Regions from separate parts of the Homo sapiens genome. Here region 1 is linked to region 2. Evidence: promoter capture Hi-C in 16 types of primary human blood cells and fetal thymus (Javierre and others, 2016). All regions are on one chromosome and are shown on one strand. Each heading gives the region's core, a stretch centred on a gene start or on the middle of the fragment in contact. The rest is flanking DNA. Distances are from core to core; before and after follow the strand shown. Region 1 overlaps LOC101927314 (a long non-coding RNA gene). Region 2 holds the start of POU3F2 (POU class 3 homeobox 2).

Region 1 (3,548 bases), core at 607-3,106, 1.3 Mb before region 2:
TCTTATAAAATTGAACATACACTTACATATAGCCCAGAAATTCCACTGCTAGGCATTTACTCAAGAGATATGAACATATATATCAATATAAACATTTATACTCAAATGTTCATAGCAGCTTTATTTATAATGGTCAACAGCTGTAAACAACTTATATGTGAATGGATGGAACAAATTGTGTTATATTCATATAATGAAATACTTCTTGGCAATGAAAATGAGTGAACTACTTATACAGCCAACAGCATGGATGAATCCCAAAAGCTTTACACTGAGTTAAAAAAAGCTGGACACAAAGGATTGCATACTGTATGATTCCATTTATGTGAAATTCTAGAAAAAGAAATATTGTAATAACAGAAAGCAGATCATTGGTTGCCAAGGGTCAGGGTGGGAGGAGTGAATTGATGACAAAGAGACACATGAGACAAAACTTCAGGGTGCAGGGAATGTTCTGGTTCATGATTCTCGTGATGTTTACATGTGTGTATACATTTTTTCAAAACTCATCAAAGTGTCTGTGTAACATGGAGGAGTTTTCTTGTGTATAAATCACATTAAAAGAAAAACGTTAAAAAATAAAAAATACCTTTTAAGGAGATAAATTATAAGAGCAAATTTTTAATGTTTATTAATCTTCCCTGGTTTAAAATTTGATGTAATTTTAAAAATGCCACTTTTATTAATTGTTCCCACTTTTTATTTTCTGTGAAACCTTACTAATGCCAATGACAGTTTTATCAACCTCTGTACTTTTAAGTAGAGAAGAAATATGTATATATGTATACGTGTGTGTGTGTGTGTTTGTGTAGTGTAGATTTGTGTATTTTTTTGAATTATGCTATTCAATTTTTGAAGCAGGAAAATTTAGATGCAAAATGCTTAGTTGTGTTCAAAGAAAGAAAGTGGAGACAGAAGGAATTACGGATGAATAGTATAAACAGTATAAATAAAATAAGGAACCTACGAAGTGGCATATTATTTTAATAACCTATAATAATAAAAAATAAACATTTTCTCAAAAATTGCTGAAAAATTATTAATTAAATTAGGAACCAGAATATTTTGAAGTTCATAAACAATTCTAATTTGTTTAAAAATGCAAGTGATATCAATGACAGTCTTTTTTGACTAACTGGCTTGTTGAAAAGTTAATCAGATATTAAAAGCTGGGTCAAGATTTTATTTTTCTAGACATAGGACTGAGACTGATAATCATGCCAGCCATGAAGTTATTTGGCCAGTGGACTTCTAACTTTGTAGTTAGACGGATGGTGGCTGCTTTATGACCAGGTCAGTTAGTAGAACAAAAATTTACTGGGTTGTGGTACTTTAGTTATGTAGGTAGGGAAACTGCAGTGGGTTCAGCCACTTTATTTGATTCTTCTTGTGAAGTCAGAAGTTGACTGGCCTTGTGTGGAAAAATCAATAAAGCATTTATAAACCTTCATGAAAGAAAAGATTTTTGAAAGGGGGAATATGTTGGTTACATGGAGAGATGACCCTGTGTGAAGGTGGGAAGGGTTAGAGTAAGCGGATTAAGCAGTAGTGACTACAGGGAACACACGCCAGTATTTTTGATTTATGTTAGCGTTCATGTAGTGAGCACTATCTGGAGAATAGCAGTGCTTTTCAAACCCTATTGATGAAGCTCTGCACACACATGGCAGCCTTGGGAAGTTGTTGGAATGTACTGTGCTGAAGGATGGTGCTTGTGTGTAGCTGATGATCCTTTTTTTCTTACGGGATGCCTGATTTAGTCTATATAGTTTGAATGGATGATATTTGGCTCAGCCTTCTTGCTTACATATAAGGTGATCAGTTGCTTTTTCTCTTTAACATTCCTACACAGCCAAATTTATGGTTGTCTAAATTTTAGATTTGAAAGTGCAGTCCCCTTTCTCTCTTGCTCATTGCTTTCACTTCTGCATGGTTATTTTGTGTGGGTCTAGTTGTGATGGACATGTTAGATTACCAAATATATGATACGGCTCATTTATTTTACCTTTGGTTAAAATTTGTTTAATTTTTTAACTGGTCAGCATTTATACCACACTTTTAGTACCCCAAAATTTAAGGACATCAGCTTCAGTGAAAAAAGTTATTATTGGATTTAGAAACATGATACAGTATAAAGGAAGATAGATATACAGAATTTTATGACTGCATGTCTCTCTATTGATGAATGTTTAGCATAATAGAAATTGAGTACATTTTCTTAAAGTACAAACACGTTGGTATGAGACATTGCACAAGTGGATGGGCTTTTAGGCTAAATCTGCCTGTATGCTCCTCAAATCTTTCTGGTTGTATCTTATATAATTTTCACTGCCAAAGCTCCTTTTTAATTTGTAAATGTGAAATGGTTGGATCAAAGTCTTATAAGATTCAAGGATTCTAATCCAATTTGATGTAGAGCAAAACACAATTTAAAATCTAAATAATTCCCAAACTCATGAAGCTGCTTTCTGATCTACTTTCTTTTCCAATCATCACAAAGCAAGACTCCTTCTGTAATTCTCTCTTCCCAACATAGGCATCTTTTCCATGCATCTCTTTGGCAACCTTAAAAAAATTACCCTTGCTCTGGTTCATTTGATTTAGTGGTCTGGAAATTTGAAAATGAGGTTGTCTGTTAAAGGTGACCCCCTGCAGTGGCTTTGGCAGCATGAGGTATTCCGGAGCTGGAACAACAATGGCAGGAAGCCTCTTGAAAGAGCAGCAGTGCTGACATGATTGGGCAGAGCAGCAAAGGCTGATTTCCTCACACCGAAGCTCTCCTGCCCCAGGCGTCTTCCTCTGACTGTCACCCTATTAATGCACAGCAATTGCTAGGCAGTCTCCAAGTCATCACCTTCTGAAAAACAACAGATGGGTTAACTGGCTTGAGGTCACTCAATGAGTCAGGAACAGAGCTGGGGGTTAAGTCCCCGGTCTCCTCATACCCATCCTGGTACATAACCAAATATATCCACTGTAGCTCCATCAGCATTTCTAATGCTTGGGGAACAAGCTCACTAAAACAGCTCTAAATTGATTAAATCAGGTTTATACTCAGTTTCTTTTTCTTTCTTTCTTTCATTAAAAAAAAATCCTGGATTGATCATACACTAGTTACTGTACAAATCTTCAAGGAATGCCTCCTAATTATACTTCTACTTCTCTATGTTGCCTCCTGATATCAAATGATAATCTTCCCACATCTCATCACATTTTTTGTTAAAAATGTAAAATCTGAAATTAAAAGTTACAAGATGTACCCTTGGTTTTAGAAGAGGAGAATTTTTTTTTTAGATGACTGTTCTGATCCCATATGTGAGTTGCCACATTTAAATAGCAGCTACTCTTTGATTATATGTGGGGGGAACGGAAATCACATTTAATTGATATCTACACACAAGAAAGAAAAGTGACTTTAGTTTACAACTTCAAACTACTGAATTTACAACCAAGCTTTTATCTAAAGGCATTTGAAAGATAGCAAAATTAGCCACTAAGTTTAAGTACTTCCCTCCTCAGACTAACTGCCAAAATGAATCAAACGCATG
Region 2 (3,344 bases), core at 160-2,659:
GGCGGTCACGCCGCTCCAGCCTGGGTCCGCGCCCAAGTTCTAGCTACCGGGCTTGCAGGCTCGGAAACTCGCAGGCGGCACCTGCTCTGGGCGGCTAAAGAACTGATGGCGCGACGCGCCCGCGCTCCGTAGAGCGGCGCTGCGGGTGCATGGTCCCATAGTCTTGCTCTGGAGTTCACTGCTGAAAGCTGAGCTGGGAGCTTGGCCAGGGAGCGCCAAAGACATAGACTAACCCCACCCGCTAGCGCCCACCGAAGTTACTGATTAGGAAGGTTCCCCTGGCATCAGCCCATTTGCTTCACACACTCTTCCTCCTTCCCAAGGGGCTAACGGAAAAGTTGCACCTACCAGCGGTAGGAGCACGGGGAATCGCGCACGCAGGCCCTCCGCGCGGCTTCCCGGAGCGGCCTTTGGCGACTGCGCCGCCCCTACAAGGCCGCACACCCCTCGCCAGCACTCCGGCAGCCTCGCACAAGACGGAGCCCACGCAGGCTTCTAGTTTTCTAAACCAAAAACTGCACGCGCCGGCGTGTGAATCTGACGGAGAGACTTTTAGAGTTTTGTTTGGTTTTCAGTTCAGACCGCTACGCTGTCAGAGCAAGCAACTCCGAGCCTTGATGGGAATGACTTACAAGCCGCGGTGCGGGCTGAGCCTGCCTCTCTCGGGGTTCTTTCCCCAAGGGAGTGGGAGACAATTGGGCCTGGAACCTAAAAGGAAGAGAGCCTGTGCTAGCCGCGGGGTAGAGGGGAAGGAGAAGAGCTTTGGGCCGAAGTGTCCGCACACCCTGGAGCAAGAGACACTTGTGCACTGAAATTCTAACCGTGGGATGCAAGGAGAGTTGAACAGGGGAACAGGTCTGGCTCTTGGCTCTAGGTTTAAGAGATACACACTGTGTGTGTGTCCCTAGGTGAATAAAAATCCGACTCCCGCTGGCTCGGTGCGACCCAGCTTTTCCCTTACCCCCTCCGTTTCCCCATCTTAAAGCCCTATTGGGAAACGAAAGTGGACACCACTGCCTCCCGCCCCCCACCCCAATCCAAGTCTTCCAAGTGTCTGTGGCCGATAAGAGCACCGGGACCGCCCCCCTGCCGGTCTTCTCTGCCTGGGAGACAGATGGGGGGCGGGGCCCATCCGAGAGAGGGCGGAGGAGGCCCCGGGTGAGGAAGAAGCGGGGGGGTGAGAACTGAGAGAATCTGAATCGGGAGGCGAAGGGGACGGGGAGGAGGGCTAGGAGGACTCCGAGCCCGGGGGAGGGGGAGGGAGTAGCTCTGCGCCAATCAGTGGCGCCGGCCTGGGAGGTTGCTAGCGGTATCCACGTAAATCAAAGGGCGCGGAGCCAATGGGAGGGGGCGGAGGGGGCGGGGCCCAGGCGCGTGCCGCTGCGAGCCGGCGCTGCCAAGAGAGCGGGAGAGAGCTGGAGAGAGCAGGGAGAGGGGGGAGCGCCGAGCTAGTCAGAGAGTGAGCGAGAGCGAGAAGGAGGGAGAGGAGGAGAAAGAGAGCGAGGGCGGGCGGGAGGCGGCGGCGGCGGCAGCAGCAGCAGTAATAGCAGGAGCAGCAACAGAAGGCGTCGGAGCGGGCGTCGGAGCTGCCCGCTGTGGGAGAGAGAGGAGACAGAAAGAGCGAGCGAGGAGAGGGAGCCCGAGGCGAAAAAGTAACTGTCAAATGCGCGGCTCCTTTAACCGGAGCGCTCAGTCCGGCTCCGAGAGTCATGGCGACCGCAGCGTCTAACCACTACAGCCTGCTCACCTCCAGCGCCTCCATCGTGCACGCCGAGCCGCCCGGCGGCATGCAGCAGGGCGCGGGGGGCTACCGCGAAGCGCAGAGCCTGGTGCAGGGCGACTACGGCGCTCTGCAGAGCAACGGACACCCGCTCAGCCACGCTCACCAGTGGATCACCGCGCTGTCCCACGGCGGCGGCGGCGGGGGCGGTGGCGGCGGCGGGGGGGGCGGGGGCGGCGGCGGGGGCGGCGGCGACGGCTCCCCGTGGTCCACCAGCCCCCTGGGCCAGCCGGACATCAAGCCCTCGGTGGTGGTGCAGCAGGGCGGCCGCGGAGACGAGCTGCACGGGCCAGGCGCCCTGCAGCAGCAGCATCAGCAGCAGCAACAGCAACAGCAGCAGCAACAGCAGCAACAGCAGCAGCAGCAGCAGCAACAGCGGCCGCCGCATCTGGTGCACCACGCCGCTAACCACCACCCGGGACCCGGGGCATGGCGGAGCGCGGCGGCTGCAGCGCACCTCCCACCCTCCATGGGAGCGTCCAACGGCGGCTTGCTCTACTCGCAGCCCAGCTTCACGGTGAACGGCATGCTGGGCGCCGGCGGGCAGCCGGCCGGTCTGCACCACCACGGCCTGCGGGACGCGCACGACGAGCCACACCATGCCGACCACCACCCGCACCCGCACTCGCACCCACACCAGCAGCCGCCGCCCCCGCCGCCCCCGCAGGGTCCGCCTGGCCACCCAGGCGCGCACCACGACCCGCACTCGGACGAGGACACGCCGACCTCGGACGACCTGGAGCAGTTCGCCAAGCAGTTCAAGCAGCGGCGGATCAAACTGGGATTTACCCAAGCGGACGTGGGGCTGGCTCTGGGCACCCTGTATGGCAACGTGTTCTCGCAGACCACCATCTGCAGGTTTGAGGCCCTGCAGCTGAGCTTCAAGAACATGTGCAAGCTGAAGCCTTTGTTGAACAAGTGGTTGGAGGAGGCGGACTCGTCCTCGGGCAGCCCCACGAGCATAGACAAGATCGCAGCGCAAGGGCGCAAGCGGAAAAAGCGGACCTCCATCGAGGTGAGCGTCAAGGGGGCTCTGGAGAGCCATTTCCTCAAATGCCCCAAGCCCTCGGCCCAGGAGATCACCTCCCTCGCGGACAGCTTACAGCTGGAGAAGGAGGTGGTGAGAGTTTGGTTTTGTAACAGGAGACAGAAAGAGAAAAGGATGACCCCTCCCGGAGGGACTCTGCCGGGCGCCGAGGATGTGTACGGGGGGAGTAGGGACACTCCACCACACCACGGGGTGCAGACGCCCGTCCAGTGAACTCGAGCTGGGGGAGGGGCAGAGCGCGGGGCTCCCCCTCCCCTTCGGTCCTTGGCCCTTTCCCGGCCCTCTTGTTCCCTCTCTAACTTCTGATTGTTCTTTTATTTTTAATTATTATTTCCCCGTCCCTTAAAAAGACAAAAAAAATAAGGCAAAAGGAAAGCAACTAAGACACTGGACTATCCTTTAAAGGTAGCAGGTGTAATGATGTGTTTTGACCTTTGCAGGCGAGTAACCAGGCAATGGAGTGGAGTGTCTCCTGGAGAGAGTGAGGAGAGTGTGTGATAGCTAGAAAGAGAGAGA

What was found. The method cuts DNA at HindIII sites, captures the fragments that hold promoters and counts their contacts. A CHiCAGO score of 5 or more calls a contact.
Region 1: a contact is called between a fragment that was not itself captured here and the fragment with the promoter of POU3F2 in region 2, in 4 of 17 cell types (total CD4 T cells, naive CD8 T cells, total B cells and 1 more). The highest score is 10.1, in total CD4 T cells.

The regions. Positions count from the first base shown.
Region 1 is chr6:97,522,254-97,525,801 of GRCh38, forward strand. The region is part of intron 1 of LOC101927314 (a long non-coding RNA gene); the gene reads left to right. Among named protein-coding and RNA genes, the nearest start is that of MMS22L, 240 kb to the left of the region's middle. RefSeq lists an enhancer at 2,536-3,141. The HindIII fragment of the contact is 3,189 bases long and covers 263-3,451 here.
Region 2 is chr6:98,833,165-98,836,508 of GRCh38, forward strand. POU3F2 (POU class 3 homeobox 2) reads left to right here and starts at 1,410. Exons shown (of 1, transcript NM_005604.4): 1 at 1,410-3,344. The coding sequence starts at 1,710. The coding sequence ends at 3,041. RefSeq lists a silencer at 1,351-1,420 and enhancers at 2,059-2,128, 2,127-2,723, 2,724-3,319. The HindIII fragment of the contact is 14,703 bases long and covers 1-3,344 here.